Regions from separate parts of the Homo sapiens genome. Here regions 1, 3 and 4 are each linked to region 2. The links are contacts of gene promoters, found by promoter capture Hi-C in blood cells and fetal thymus (Javierre and others, 2016). All regions are on one chromosome and are shown on one strand. Each heading gives the region's core, a stretch centred on a gene start or on the middle of the fragment in contact. The rest is flanking DNA. Distances are from core to core; before and after follow the strand shown. Region 1 holds the start of MCAM (melanoma cell adhesion molecule). Region 2 holds the start of HINFP (histone H4 transcription factor). Region 3 holds the start of RNF26 (ring finger protein 26). Region 4 overlaps CBL (Cbl proto-oncogene).

What was found. Contacts are between HindIII fragments. The CHiCAGO score rates a contact against its expected background, and 5 or more counts as called.
Region 1: a contact is called between the fragment with the promoter of MCAM here and the fragment with the promoter of HINFP in region 2, in 13 of 17 cell types (naive CD4 T cells, fetal thymus, endothelial precursors and 10 more). The highest score is 12.4, in naive CD4 T cells.
Region 3: the fragment with the promoter of RNF26 here is called in contact with the fragment with the promoter of HINFP in region 2 in 7 of 17 cell types (naive CD4 T cells, fetal thymus, endothelial precursors and 4 more); the score reaches 8.3 in naive CD4 T cells.
Region 4: a fragment that was not itself captured here is called in contact with the fragment with the promoter of HINFP in region 2 in 9 of 17 cell types (endothelial precursors, fetal thymus, naive CD4 T cells and 6 more); the score reaches 7.4 in endothelial precursors.

What each region holds. Positions count from the first base shown.
Region 1 is chr11:119,315,285-119,319,022 of GRCh38, reverse strand. MCAM (melanoma cell adhesion molecule) reads left to right here and starts at 1,893. Exons shown (of 16, transcript NM_006500.3): 1 at 1,893-1,988. The coding sequence starts at 1,922. RefSeq lists enhancers at 264-313, 3,207-3,738 and a silencer at 1,555-1,614. The HindIII fragment of the contact is 17,882 bases long and covers 1-3,738 here.
Region 2 is chr11:119,120,276-119,123,721 of GRCh38, reverse strand. HINFP (histone H4 transcription factor) reads right to left here and starts at 2,142. Exons shown (of 10, transcript NM_198971.3): 1 at 2,083-2,142. RefSeq lists a silencer at 2,129-2,408. The HindIII fragment of the contact is 5,005 bases long and covers 1,310-3,446 here.
Region 3 is chr11:119,332,680-119,336,001 of GRCh38, reverse strand. It overlaps RNF26 (ring finger protein 26), which reads right to left and starts at 1,475. Exons shown (of 1, transcript NM_032015.5): 1 at 1-1,475. The coding sequence starts at 879. RefSeq lists an enhancer at 942-1,833. The HindIII fragment of the contact is 9,565 bases long and covers 1-3,322 here.
Region 4 is chr11:119,297,780-119,301,515 of GRCh38, reverse strand. It overlaps CBL (Cbl proto-oncogene), which reads right to left. Exons shown (of 16, transcript NM_005188.4): 15 at 2,976-3,158; 16 at 1-2,021. The coding sequence ends at 1,735. Among named protein-coding and RNA genes, the nearest start is that of MIR6756, 13 kb to the left of the region's middle. The HindIII fragment of the contact is 1,156 bases long and covers 673-1,828 here.

The DNA.
Region 1 (3,738 bases), core at 644-3,143, 200 kb before region 2:
CTATGACCCACTTCCGAGCAGCCTAGACAGCCCCAGGCTACTGGCTTCCTTAAAGGACAGTCTTCTGTGCTTGTTTGGTGGGGCAATGCGAAGGGACGTCACCCTGGGCTCTAGGCTCTGACCTCATTTCCCTTTCACCGCAGAGACAAATCCTCCACCCCCACCTGGCTTCACTCTCCTCCAGCGGAAGAAGAATTCAGAACTGACTGTCCTTGGTGGTTAGCTGGCTTTGTTTTCAGGCCAGAGAGGCGAATGATTAGTTAATGGTGTTAAGTGAAGGAAGGGGGTTGGGCAGGGAAGCCAGCTCCATGCCCAGCCGGGCCTGCCAGGGCAAACGGCATCCTTCAGCCATTCCCACTCCAGCCCAGCAGACAAAACATTCTCATCTAGTCAGCTCTGGGCCTGGGGCCAGTCCATACATTCACTCTGGAGGGCGAGCCAGCGTCCTCCTCTTGTTCTCCCTGCAGGCTCCAGGCTCCAGGCCCCTGGCCCGGTGGGCCTGGGCTCTGCACAGCCTCTGGCTGGAGACTAATGGCATTGGAGGAGGGGTCGAGAAGGCTCTGAAAGACAAGCCTGGTGTGGTTTTCCAGTCATCTCTGCGTCATCAAAACGCCACCCCGGAGCATGCTCTCAAGTCACCTGGCCATCTCCAGGGTTTGCTGGCTCACCCTCCACCTCCCCCAGCGAGCAAAGGGGTGGCCCCGCTGGGCAACAGACCTCTACCCAAATCCAGGCCCCTATTTGGCACTCCCTGGTGGAGGCGCGCCAGCAGATGTGGACCCCTTTTCTGAGGCCAGGCTGCTGGGGTCAGAGTGAGGCAAGAGCACCTCCCCCTCCCTAGAGCCTTAGTTCAAGAGGCCAGAAGACCCAGGGAGAAGCCGGCGTTTTGGGAGAAGGGGAGCTGCAGAGCTCCCCACCCAAGCAGGTCTGATTTGATTCTTCCCTCAGCTATGGACCCACAATCAATAGGGCTGGGGAAGACATGGGGTGGGGGAAGATCAGCGCTGCCGGGATCCTTTCAATCATCAGGAACAGCAACAGGTTTGCAGGGTCAGGCTGGGGACCCTCGCCCATTAACTCTTTCTTCTCCCTGTTTCTTTCTCTTAGGTGAGGGGAAACTGAGTTCCAGGGTAGGCTCCAGAGTGAAGAGGGAAGAAACATGATTCTCAAGGCCCAGGTCTGGACAAGTGTGAACACCTTGGGCCTGCGAATTCAGCCCCCTCCTTCCTTTCTCTGGTCAAAGGCTAGACTTGCAGGAGCTTGCGTTTGAAGGGACAGCCCAGAAGGCATCGTCTGCACTCCCCATACAGGTACTTCTGGGTCTGTGGGACTGGCGCAGGGTTCTTCTCCCAAAGCTGCCAGCACTGAGGCTGAGGCAGTGTCAGGCCGGCGGCAGCGGCAGTGGTGCAATCGTTCTGGGAAGCGATAGAGGCCGGCCTGAATTCTCTGTGGCAAGGGAGGGGAGCCCAAGTGGGAGGCCCCTTGGGGACACCGAGGACCAGGTCCGCTACTGCTCCTCCCCCAGGAGGTCCCCTAGGGGCTACATTGGCTGGCAGGGGCTGAGCAGCGGTGAGCCTGGCTGGCTTCGACCCGGGGCGACTCCGGGCATCCGGGACAGCTTCTCCTCGCTGCCACCTCGGCCAGTCAGACCCCGAGACACCTGTCACTACCCCCTCAGCCTTCCCAAGCCAGGAGCCTGGGAGTCCGGCTCTGGCCTACCTCCGGCAGCGCTCCTAGGCGCAGCTCCCGGGCTGGCGGCGCCGGGGCCCGCCCCCTAGGGCTGCGGCGCGCGGGGCGGGGGCTGGGGGCTGCGCGGGGCGGGGCGGGCCCGGGCGCTCCGGGCCCCCTCCCCCGCCCCCCTGACGTCAGCCCCCGGCAGCCTCGAGCTGCTCACTTGGCTCTCGCCCTCCGGCCGGGAAGCATGGGGCTTCCCAGGCTGGTCTGCGCCTTCTTGCTCGCCGCCTGCTGCTGCTGTCCTCGCGTCGCGGGTGAGTTCGCTCGCAGGGGGGCCGCGCCCCGGCTAGGGGTCTGCGGTGGAGCGTGCCAGGGAGCAGAGCCAGCGGCGCGGCGGGGTCGGGGCGTTGCGTCTGGGAGGACGAGCCTCCTCCCTGGGTCCCCGATCCCCGGGCGCCTTGCGCGCGAGCAACTCTTCTTTGCAGCCAGTTTGCAGCCGGGATTCTAGAGTATCCCGGGAGCAGCACTCGGAAGGCGGGGAGGAGGCTGCTTCTGGGAACGAGAAGGGGTGGAGCTCAGCCTTTCGGGGTGCTGGGGGGTGGGTGGTCCCTGAGGTGCTCACTCTGGGGGCCCGCAATTGAAGCCGGGCAGGAGGCGCAGCTGGGGCGCATCCTCAAAGCCTGAATTCCGCGCCCGCCTGTTGCTGGAAAAGGCAGCTTCCTTCGCTGGAGGGGGTGCGCCGACCCACCCCTTCCCCCTTCTGCCTGGGCATCACGCCAGGCTGGAGGTGAGCGAGAGCGGGAGGTTCGGCGGCTCCCGCCCGAGCTGGGCGTTGGCAGGGGTTGCGGGGCGGTGTGGGTCGCCTCGCGCCTCCCCGAGTGATGGGATCATAGGGGACAGAGATGAGGGATGGAGGATTCCCATACTGGAAGCGCCCGCTGGCTTATTTTGGGGACCACATTCAGGTGGGAAGTGCGCCCGGGCACCTCGGAGCGTTTCTCCGGATCCGCCTGGTAGCAGGGCGCTCTCGGGTCCACGCTGCCCTTGTATGGCCCGCAGCGGTGTCGCGTGTTTCTCTTGGCTCCCATTCCGCCGTCCCAGCCGCTGTCCGGCTGGGGAAGGGGAGGGCTAGGCAATACCCAGCTCGCTGGCCTCATGCCCAGTGCCAACCATGTCCCTGGGGTATTCCAGGCTACTGCCTCCCAGGCTGACTTTATTTCTGGGGAAAGGGCTAAATCGGGCTCCACAGTTGCAGCCGGTCCAGCTCCACCCTGCCCTGCTCTTCTAGCTCTGGGAGGAGTCAGGGGTCTGAGGCTCTGGGTTGGAGACCCCACCTTCCACCTGCCCTCCTTGTCCGAGAGCCAAGGTAACAACCCAGGCATCCCAGAGCCCAGGCAGATGGTGTCGAGTGACATCACCTCCTCACAGGGCTGGCAGCACGCTGGCACCACTGACGTCACTCCTGCCCACTGCCTGGCCCTTGCCCTGACCCCTGGGGGAGACTCTGACCTCTCCATCCTTACCAGCTACCTAGGGTGGGGTCCGCGGGTGTGTGCGGAGTGTTCATGGAGGTGCTGCTGAGGGAGCATGAGACCGGAACTTCCGCCAGAGTTAGCCCGCTGGGGAGTGAGGGCAGGGATTTTGGAGGGCAGAGGATAGAGCAGTGGTGTCTTCCCCTGGCGGTGGTGACACAAAAGGGCCTGTGTGCCCCAGCCTGGCACATGCTTTGCATTCCCACACTCTGAGCTCACCCGGAGAGGAGGGGGCCTGGAAGGAAAGGGGCCTTCCTCTTGGCCCCGAGCCTAGGTTGCCCCTTTCTGCCCCTCTACCAGCCTCAGCTGGAGCTGTTCGGTGCTCAGTCTCTGCTCAATCTCTGCTTGGCTCCAAGGACCTGGGATCTCCTGGACGGGGAGAGGGCTGGCCCAGGTGGGGCGCGGGTCGGGGTGGGGGTAGAGCGTTCAGAGGACAGGGCCCTCTGCAGACCCTCTGAGTGGCAGGAAAAACAGCTGCAGCAGCGCTGCGAGGGGAGGGGCGGACAGCAGCCGGAGCTGACACAGCTGCGGG
Region 2 (3,446 bases), core at 893-3,392:
AAAAAAAAAAAAAAACAGCCGATGTGGTAGCATGCACCTGCAGTCCCGCTACTTGGGAGGTTCAGGTGGGAGGAAGGCTTGAGCCCAGGAGGCAGAGGTTGCAAAGAGCCAAGATCACACCATTGTACTCCATCCTGGGCGGCAGACCCAGACCCTGTCAAAAAAAAAAAAAAGAAGAAAGAAATATTGAATATTGACTGCTTTTATAATGTTGTGGTAAGAAAAGTAGAAAAAAGCTTCAAAAGTCATAAAATCCCACACCTCCTCTGACTATTACAGTATGAAATGCAAGGCTCTTCTCAAAGTGGTCTCAATTTTACTTCTCCAGTTCTAGGTAGGGAAACGAACATCTATTGAGAAGCTACAGTGTGTCAGCCCTGTGGTGAGTCCTCTCTACACTTCATCTGATGTAAGAGCACCCTCATTCCAATCCAAAGATCATGCTCTTTCTCCCACATGATGCTGTTCTCTGGCTTCCTCACCCATACTTCATTCCCTCTTCCTCTGATTCAATCATCTTTGTCTCTGAATACTCTACATTCTCCTAAAACTCTCTGCCTACGCAAGTTCTTTTTTTTTTTTTTTTTTTTTTTGGAGATGGAGTCTTGCTCTGTCGCCCAGGCTGGAGTGCAGTGCTGTGATCTGGGCTCACTGCAACCTCCGCCTCCCAGGTTCAAGCGATTCTCGTGACTTAGCCTCCGAAGTATTATAGCTGGGACTATAAGCACGCACCACCACGCCCAGCTAATTTTTGTAGTATTAGTAGAGACGAGGTCTTGCCATGTTGGTCAGGCTGGTCCCAAACTCCTGACCTCAAGTGATCCGCCCGCCTCGGCCTCACAAAGTGCTGGGATTACAGGTGTGAGCCACCGCGACAGGCCTACCTATGCAACTTCTATTCGCCTTTCAAACCCCAAAGTCTTCTCTTTGATGACCCCCTTCCCAATTCATCCAGGTACAGCTGGCATATCCCATCTCTTGCCCACGGCATCCACACACATCTTTGCTATCAATGCAATGAAACTTGTTTCCCCTAGACTAGGAGTTTCTCAGGACAGTGGCCATCACTTATTCACTTCTCATTCTCAGATTCAGCACAGAGCTTTGCACACCCCAGGTACTCAATAAATATCAGGAGATAATCACATTCCGGGAAGCCTTCCTAAACTACCCCATCCCTGAATCTACTCTTGCTCCTTAGTTCTATGGCTGGCACAGCTGACACCATAAAACTTCAACCCTATTTTCATGTTGCCATGGTCGTTTTATGTGTTCTAGTCTCGTTTACCCAATTGGACTATAAGAAGCTTCTGAGCAGAAACCATATCACACCTGCCCGTGTCCCTACACTGTGCCGAGCACAAATATTCTAAACATACACCTGCTGTTAGACTGGTGGGTAAGTCCAAGGAGGCAAGCTAGCTGGCGATACAGAATGATCTGAAACCTAGGCAAAACTCCCTGACGCTCTCTGACTGTCCTCCTGTCTTCTTTAATTTCTCTTTCTGTGTCTCTTGTTTCTACTCTGAGGAGATAGGGGCATGATCTTCACTCTACCCTCTTAACACTTAAGAGGGCATATACTGTAACGCAAGACAATGAATGAACTGTGGTATTCAAGAAAAAAAGGGTCCTAAACGCCTAAGAACTCATAATTTGGCCAAAAAGATAAGACTGATACGTGAAGACAACGACCGAAACAAAGTACCCGATGAGGGAGACCAGGACAGAGAGACACCTCCGCGGTCAGGCGAAAAGGAAGTCTCCCCTAAGCAGTGGGGCCCGCACCACGCCTCGAAGGACAGGTAGAATTTGGACAGAAGGAAGGAGACCGTCCCGTTGGGCAAAACCTCTCCACTCGCAGTCCCGCAGGCTTCCCGGAATCCTTCACGCTAAGGCGTGGCGGCGACCGAGTCTCAGCCGCAGCGAAGCCCCTAGACTAGAAAGCAGGGAGGTTCCAGTCGGGGTGAGGGGACCGGACCAGGGCAGACCAGCGTGGCCAAGCGGCAAGAATACTCGCCGAGGTGGCTCGGGAAGAGCTTGGCCTCCTGCAGCCCCTGCAGAGCACATACCCCAGCTTACCGTCTGTCGGCTCCAGGTCTCTTCAGCTCTTCTCCCACCTCAGACCATCTCCGGAGAGGCGCTTGAGGGACGGTCAAGGAAAGCCAATCGTCGTTCTCGGATCCGACTGACAGCCAATGGTAGCTGTGTCTGGCGGAACCCGTGCGCACCAAAACACGGAAGGGGCGGGAACAGTGGGTGGGGCTAGGCGTCCCGGGCGGACAGAGGGGCGACAGGATACGTGCAAAAGGTAGCACGTGACCGCGCCTCGCTGCTCAGGGCAACGCAAAGGCGGGGAGCCTATGGGCCTGAGTTCCCCTAACTGCGCAGGCTCGGCCTCCGGGACCCAACGGGCATGCGCAGGGCTCGCGCCTGGTGCGCAGTGGGGTCTCCCTCACGTGGTTCTTCGCTTTAGTTGGCTGGTTGCGTGGGCCTCGCGGAGAAAAAGGCGTGGGATGCTGCCCAGCGCTGTCGGCCCCGCTCGGCTCAGATTGAAGGTTCTACCCTTTCCTTCAGCCTCTTAGTCTTATTATGTTTTAAATGTTGGTATTATATGTTTCTCTTTCCCCCCAAAACTCGGCTTCCCTTCATCCACTCGTTCAGGTCAGAAAGCTGGCAGTCATCACTGATTCCTCTCACTTCTCACATCCAATCCATTGCCAAGTTCTGTGGATTCTACCTCCTTTTAAAACAGGATATTTCAAATTTATCCCCTTTTGTTTATCTTCACCGCCTCCCCCACCTCCCCTGTCCAGTGATGACCTCCAGGCAGGATTTATACATTAGTCTAATGGGTCCCGCTGCGTGCACACTTGCTTCCTTCCAAAGCATTCTCCACTTTGCAAAAAGCAGACCTGATCAAGTTACCATCTGCTTCAGACAATTCAAAGGCATTCTATTGCTTTCAGGGCAAAGCTCCAAAACCATACTGAGGTTTTCTAGACCCTTCAGCATCTGGGCTCTCCCTGTCTACTTTTTTTTAGTCCTTCTCGACCATATTTCTTGCTCTCCAGTCGCAAATTTCTTTCACCTTTTCCACCACACCAAGCCACCTTTTACCTCTCAAGCCTTGAACTTGTTTTCTTTACCTGGAATAATCCCTTTCTCCTCCTCCCACATTTATTTGACTGACTCCTACTAATTTTTATGGTCTCAGTGTAGATGCTTCTTTTTCCAAAAAGTCTTCCTGATAGTCCTTTCTTGTATTTAACAATACAGCTCAGTCACATTGTATTTGTCTGTTTACTCTCAGTCTGCATTCTTCACTAGACTAGTTCTTCACCTTTATAACTCCATCAGTGGGCCGGGTGTCGTGGCTCACGCCTGTGATCCCAGCACTTTGGGAGGCCGAGGCGAGTGGATCACATGAGGTCAGGAGCTCAAGA
Region 3 (3,322 bases), core at 226-2,725, 210 kb before region 2:
GCGGCTCCAGACTCGGCGCCAGGCCTCTGAGCCCAGTGCTAGGCGAGAGAGCCGCATGACATCCTCTCGAAGACGGTGGTAGGATGGCCGGGCATGGAGCTGGCTGAGTGCCTGGGTAGCCAGCCTCAGGGTGAAGTCCGGATGCAACACAGTCACCGTCACTGCCAGCACACAAGCTAGCAACACCAAGCCAGTGAGATTGACAAGCACAAAGCTGGCCAGGAGGCGGGCAGCTGAGGCCAGCAGCTCCAGGGCTAGTTGGCAGGGTGTCCAAAGGAGGATGGCCATGGCCACAGCACTGCTGGAAATGTGGGCTAGGAAGGCAGCCACTACGTCCGTCATCCTCCACAGAGGCCCGGTCACTGCATCCCACAGGGCCAGCACCAGGGAAAAGAGGTTCTGAGTGCCGATGAGGCAGATGTTGACCAGGCTGTTGATCACATAAGCCACCAGGCTCATGGCAATGGCACAGATGTCACAGGCCTGGCGCAGCAAAGCATGGCCACTGGAGACCACATTGAGGACGCCCCGGTGCAGTATCTCCCTGCTCCGCAGTGCCCCATGAGAGGCCAGGTGCCCCAGGAGCTTTAGGCTCTCTAGGCCAGAGCAGCAGCTATACAGCAGAGTACACAAGGCCTGCAAGCCCCCACATGTGAACCGGACCACGGCTTCGATCAAGGCCAGCAATGAAAGCAAGACTCCGCGGCCCAAGTGCAGAAGACTAGTCAGTACCGTGTGCGGCAGGTTGTAGACGAAGGCCAGGAGCCAGGCCAGGGAAGCCAGGAGGGAGGACACCAGCAGGAAGTTGAGGTCCAACACCAAGGTCAGCACGTCCAGCACCAGGCCCAACCCATTCACTACCAGGTACACTGCCTCCATGATAGGGCTATGGAAGTTAGTCCAAAACAAAGTCTGGCTCCTCGGTTGGGGGGTTGTCAAGGTTGTCAATATTTTAGGGGGTCTGGGATTAATTTGGAAGGAAAATGAGCAGTCTCCAACCCAGGGGGTACCAAGAATCTGAGGAAGAAGTGGGTAAGACGGAAGTGGAGTCTTGGTAGAGGGAAAGGTGGCCAGGTGCCAGTCCAAGAGTCCAGGTTTTGAAGATGGGCTGTTTGGGAGGGAAGAGGCCAAACATCTCTAAAGCGAAGGCGAGCCCAGGCCGTAGGAGCGACCTCAGCTTTGGATGCCTGGTGTGGCGAACCACGGCCGGGCAACGGGTCAGACCGGGAGGAGACGAGGAACGGATGGAATGGGATCGGATCGGATCGGGTCGCGTCGGGTCGGGCCGGGGCCGGGTGGGGTCGATGTAAGCTGGGCGCAGGCTCTCAGTCCAGCTACGCAGGTGCCCCTGTCCCCGCCCGGCCCCCGTCTTCCCGCTAGCGGCGCTTTGCACCCAAAAGGGGAGTGGGAGAGGCAGCCAGCTTCAGCAAACCCCAAGCGCAGCCCCTACTCCGCTGGGCGCCGCCATCTTGTGTGCAAAGGGGTGGAGCCAGAGGCGTGACGAGGAGGGAGGGACGACAAACTCCAGCCAATCGGTGAAGGCCAACCACAAAAACGTCGATCACTCATTGGTCCGTTTGAATGGCGCCCGAACGTATTTACTTTCCAAAGGGAAGGAGAGGCGACAGATTAAATCCCCTCCCCCTTTAGGCGGGGATTGGTTCGTTGGCGGGCAGCGTCGAAATACGCTCTCCTAGCCCCACCCTCTAAAAGAGCAGGGTCTTGGACTCCCCTCAATTTGGGAGCTGTTCTTTCTCCCGGCCTCTGAACGCGAGGTTTTTTTTTTGGCTTGGGTCGGAGGTCACTGCCTCTGGGCTGGGCTTTGGAATAGCACCGCCTTCGCAGCCTGCCCAGATCCGTCTCCTCATTCTCTTCTATTTATTCATCTATTCTATCATTTATTGAACTCCTACAGTGCATTGAGGATACAAAAAAATTTTAAGACAGTGCCTGCTGTTCACAAGGGAAAGCAGATTATTACAGGGGATTCCCAAACTGCTATTCCAAACTTTCCTCACCAGGTTTTTCAACATCTCGGAAGATTACTTCATTGTCATTGAGAAAAAGGGGCTACAGATTTAGAAACCGCTCAGCTTCCTACCCTGGGCCTTCCTACCCTAGAGTGCAGTGGCGCGATCTCGGCTCACTGCAACCTCTGCCTCCCGGGTTCAAGCGATTCTCCTGCCTCAGCCTCCCGGGTAGTACAGGTGCCCACCACCTCACCCGGCTAATTTTTGTATTTTTAGTAGAGACGAGGTTTCACCATGTTGGCCAGGCTGGCCTCGAACTCCTGAACCTCGTGATCCACCCGCCTCGGCCTCCCAAAGTGCTGAGATTACAGGCGTGAGCCACCAAGCCCGGCCCTGCCCTTTTCTTTAATACTCAAACAATAGTCAAAATATATTTGAAACCCCATCCCAAATATATTGGGAATCCTGGCGTTTTCTACTAACTCCAAGGATGCTTAGCAGACTCCTAGTGGACTTATCTTTCCCCTGGTCACCTTTGCTGAATTTCCTACTTGAGTTGAATTCTCCATCTCCACTCCTGGGCTCCTGAAAGTGTCCGTCCTCCTTCAGTCTGCCCTGAACACTGCCTCAGAGTCCTTCATTCTCCAAAGCATCACTGATAAGAAGCTGAGGTGTGCAGCAAACCTTTACTGAGGCCTTGGGATCGTGGTAGGGGTACGCTATAGTGCAGAGGAAGGACTGCAGTCGCTGAAACTCCTCTGGCTTCTTCCTACCCTTTCTCTCTCCCTGCTCTCAGGCCCTGGCCAGGTTATGGTTTGTTGTGTTGTGATGTGTTGCTGATGTTTTTATTTTCCTACTCGCATCCTCCCGCCAGTGTCAAATCTTGGAGAATGTGCCCACCTCCCTTTCAAGACAGTTGATCCCATCGCCCGTACCATCTCCTCTTAAGGGATCTTATTTGTCCAGTGAACACTATGTTGTTATTAATCAATCTTCCTCCAGCACTTGACACCACTTCCTCCACCCTTGGCCTCAGAATCATTACCCTTTCCTATATTCTTTCTGTTTCCATCATAGCCTCCTCTCCTGTATACACGATGATTTCTGAATTTGTGTCTTCAGCCTGAACCTGTCCTGCAAACTTCAGGCTCCAGCTGCTTCCTGGACATGAACGGTTCATGGGTATCCCACTGGTGCTTCCTACACAATATGTCCAAAGTCAAACTTGGCAAACGTGCTGTGCCTGCACTGCGTGCAATTAACTGGCCAGTTTTCCACACCAAGAAGCATGTAAAGTCCTTCTCAGAGTTGGCAGGATCCTCTAAGAGAGAATTTCCATTCGTTTAGGACCA
Region 4 (3,736 bases), core at 1-2,500, 180 kb before region 2:
GAGGGTCATTTCTGTGTAGATCTAAAGACAAAAGCATGATTTAGATTTTCAGGAAGACAGATTTATCAAAGAGCAGGCTTGCTTCTGACATGGAGAAAGCTTACACACTGCTAAGAAAGTGAGCTAAACACTCTGGACAGAATACTAACTGAACTCGAGGGATCATTTATCAGCATATAAAAGAACTGACTAATAGTTCTCCCAACTGGACCCTCAATTCTCTTTATGAACTTGCAATTACACAAACTGCCAGCCCATACTGTCTTTGACTACAGTAATTTATTCACTGAATGATGTCTAATTACCGTGAAGAACACAGTAATTACAGAGAGTATTTAGGACCTCAGGTGAAGAGGAAAAGGGAAGGAAAGGAGGAAAGAGATGTTACATTCCCAAAGCCACAGGCACAAGAAAAGAACCACATCATCGGGAGGCAGCAATGCAGGGAAGGTGCCATCAGCAAGAGGCTGGGCCACCGTGGACATTATCCCCACTCCTTAAAGGGCAAAGGAAAAAACCACTGCTGAAAATATAACCTAATATTCCTCATGTTCAAATGAAGACACCCATATAAGCTGAAATTAATTCACTGGGAAGAAAAACTGAACAGATAAATCCTTACTGTCTATTTTGTGCATTTAAATAGCATGTGAACGAAGCTTCCTAAAAGCTTTCCGGTATTCTGGCCAGAAAGTCATCCTGGAAACAAATGTTCTTCCCTTCCCATTAAGTAGAAAGACTCATGACCTACATCAGAACACATACCTGGCACCAAGGCAACTGACTCCCACAGACTATTTTCTGGGGAGGGCATGGAATGTATTTAAAGGCCTCTATCTCAAATCGGTCATTATGTAATTAGGATAATCAAAACATCTTAATAGCTTCAATGTTCCTATAGAAACAGTGCTTTGGAGTGACCAGTGTTAGCTGCTAGTATCAAACATGCCTATAATAGTGTAGCAACAGTACTTTTCCTCCCACTTATCTACCAAACAAACCAATACCATCACACACAATAAAGAACATCCCATAAGCTGCTTGGCCTCAGTAAGGCTGGCCATAGCAAGCCCATGGCCCATGACAGAACACCAAGAAGGATGAGGAAGGAGTTGATGGGGAAAGAACAGACAGAAGGTGTTCTAAAAATAGAAGACTTTAGCTATGCACATGGTAATATAAGCCAAAGGGGAGTGTTGAAGTTGTAATACACACTAGGCTTGGGTATAATACCACAGTAGATGGAAGTCTTTAAAAAAAGATTCCTTCCTAAACCTTTTGTGCTAATTCCCTGCCTGGAATTAACACACACAGCAGGTTAATCTTATAATCACAAGGACACATACAACCACAGGCAGACACACACACACACGGCCACATCCTTAACCCAGGAAGTCTTAAGTCCTCAATTAGGATTTCCAGCAAAATACTTGTTCTATAGCTTTCTGGACTGTTCCCCAGGTAGGTTATCATGTAATATAATCCACACTCTCTCTACGTGGGAACTGAAGGACACCTTCAAATGCACTCAAGACCCATAAAATAATAAAACATACTAGCTGCTCCATTTTCATTTCACCACTTTGAAATCTTGGAACCACTGATGTGATATCCCACAGAGAGGGCAAGACTTCACTGTGAAGTCACCAAAGGAACTCCTGCCCTTCTAGGTGCCACTTGAGTAATAACTCCCAACTCACTGGTCCTCTAAACCTGCAGCAGGGAGATGGTGTGCTAGGTAGCTACATGGGCAGGAGAAGAAATGGAAACAAATTCCCGGAGGATGTTTTTGGCCATCTCGATGTTGTTCTGGGCAATGACCAAAGCTTTCTGGATGTCCTGGTAGGAGTACCCCTGACTCATGAGGTTCTCGATCTCACTGGAGAGCTGAGGTGAGGCGGTGGCAGCAGAGGCGGCAGGACCACTACCTTGCTGACAGCTGCCAGCTTTCCGTTCAGAGTTGATTCTCCGCGGGAATGGTTTTGGAGGCCTCTCGGGAACTTGGGAACCTTCAGTGACATCTAGAAGAAATAGGAAAGAAAATATTTGCAAATCTGGGGAAATCCTCATTTAACAACAGCAATAAAAATGTGCTAATATCAAGATATTACTGACTTCCTGTAAACTGGGTACATGTGCTCTTCAGTCACAAGGCTGGGTTTTACAGGTTCAAGGGTTTTAAGATATAGCCTCCTCATCACAATAAAAACAACCTTCTAAATATACCATGCACCTGTCCTATGAACAATAACCACTGCAATCATAAACATCTGCATCATGCTTTACACTAAGCAACATGTTTGTGCACATGTAATTGTCTGTTTTAATTCTGAGGGGACCAAAGATACTAAACTTCGCCTTCTACAAATAAGGAAAAAGACAGATATAAGTTGCAATGAAGAAGCATTAGCCAAGGCTGAGTGGGGGACATTGCTCGTCTGGGCAAGCGAAGGCTGTATTCTTTTTCACCAGCTGTCTGTCCTGAAGGCTGTCTTCAATTCCAAAGTGACAGCAACTCTGGCTGCTGCCCTACCAGGCAGCCACAGGTGCAAGAAGAGCAGCCTCCAGTAGTCAAGGCCCAACATGGGCTGGCTCCAGGCCCATTCAGTGTGTGTTCCAGAGCTAGCATGCCTTCTTTCCAATGGAACAGAGCCCAGGAAAAAGGAATGTGTGCTCTGAGCCATCAAGCCTAATTACCAGTGTCATAAGGCATACTCAGAGAAACTATAAATCCTACCTACCCCTAACATAAGAAGAGCCAGAGTTTAAGGAATGACCTCTTTTCTAAGTCTGCAAAAATCCTAAAGAGTCTGACTACAGTCTAACTTCCTAACTTGGGACTTTCCTCCCATTTAGACATAATGTTTAGCCTACATACTGACTTACTGTCACCAGAGAAGGTCATCTCCCTTTCAATATAAACATACAGGCCACACTGCCATTCAGGACAAACCCAAAGTAGTCTGGAGACTCACTTGTTGTAGGATCACCATCCAGAGACAACCAGCCAAAGGAGGAGCTGGCATTAGAGATATCTGAGAGAGTTCGGCGGGCCAGCACGGCCGGCACAGGTGGCTTTGGGACATCATACCCATCATCCTCATTTTCTGACTCCTCGGGACCAGTGTTGGCATGGGCTGCGGCCAAATTCCCTTCACCTGGAGAAAAATGAGTGATGTTATCTTCTTCTGACGCACTTCATCTTCTAATACATTTCAATACGGGGCAGCCATTCATTTTTACATGTATGCAATCATTTATCTCATTCAACAGTTACTGATTGTCTACTGTGGGCCAAACACCATGTAAACAGAGATAAAAATAGAAAATAAAATCTGCACCAACACTGCAGCTTTCATTTTTGAACATGCCAAAGGTTATTCTTGACAAGGTTAATAGCCACCGATGCCAATGACTCCAGTGTCATCTCAGATCATTCAATAAACATTTCTATCCACATTCCACCTTGGAAGATCAGCAAAGGATCCTGTGAGAGCAGGCTTCTTGAACTTTCAATCTGGTAGGCTAGTTAACATGGGAATTGAGTGTTCACCACCCCCACATAAAAGAATTTCATCAATGCAATGAGAAAAAAAAGGAGCTTACAGGTCCAGAGTATAGAACACAAATGTCTCTAGGCCCTGGAAGGACAAAGAAAAGCACAAAAGGAACCAGCAGTGTGAGTAGGAAATAAAGGATTGGGGATACTTTACTGCCCATGTCAAAGATATTTTGC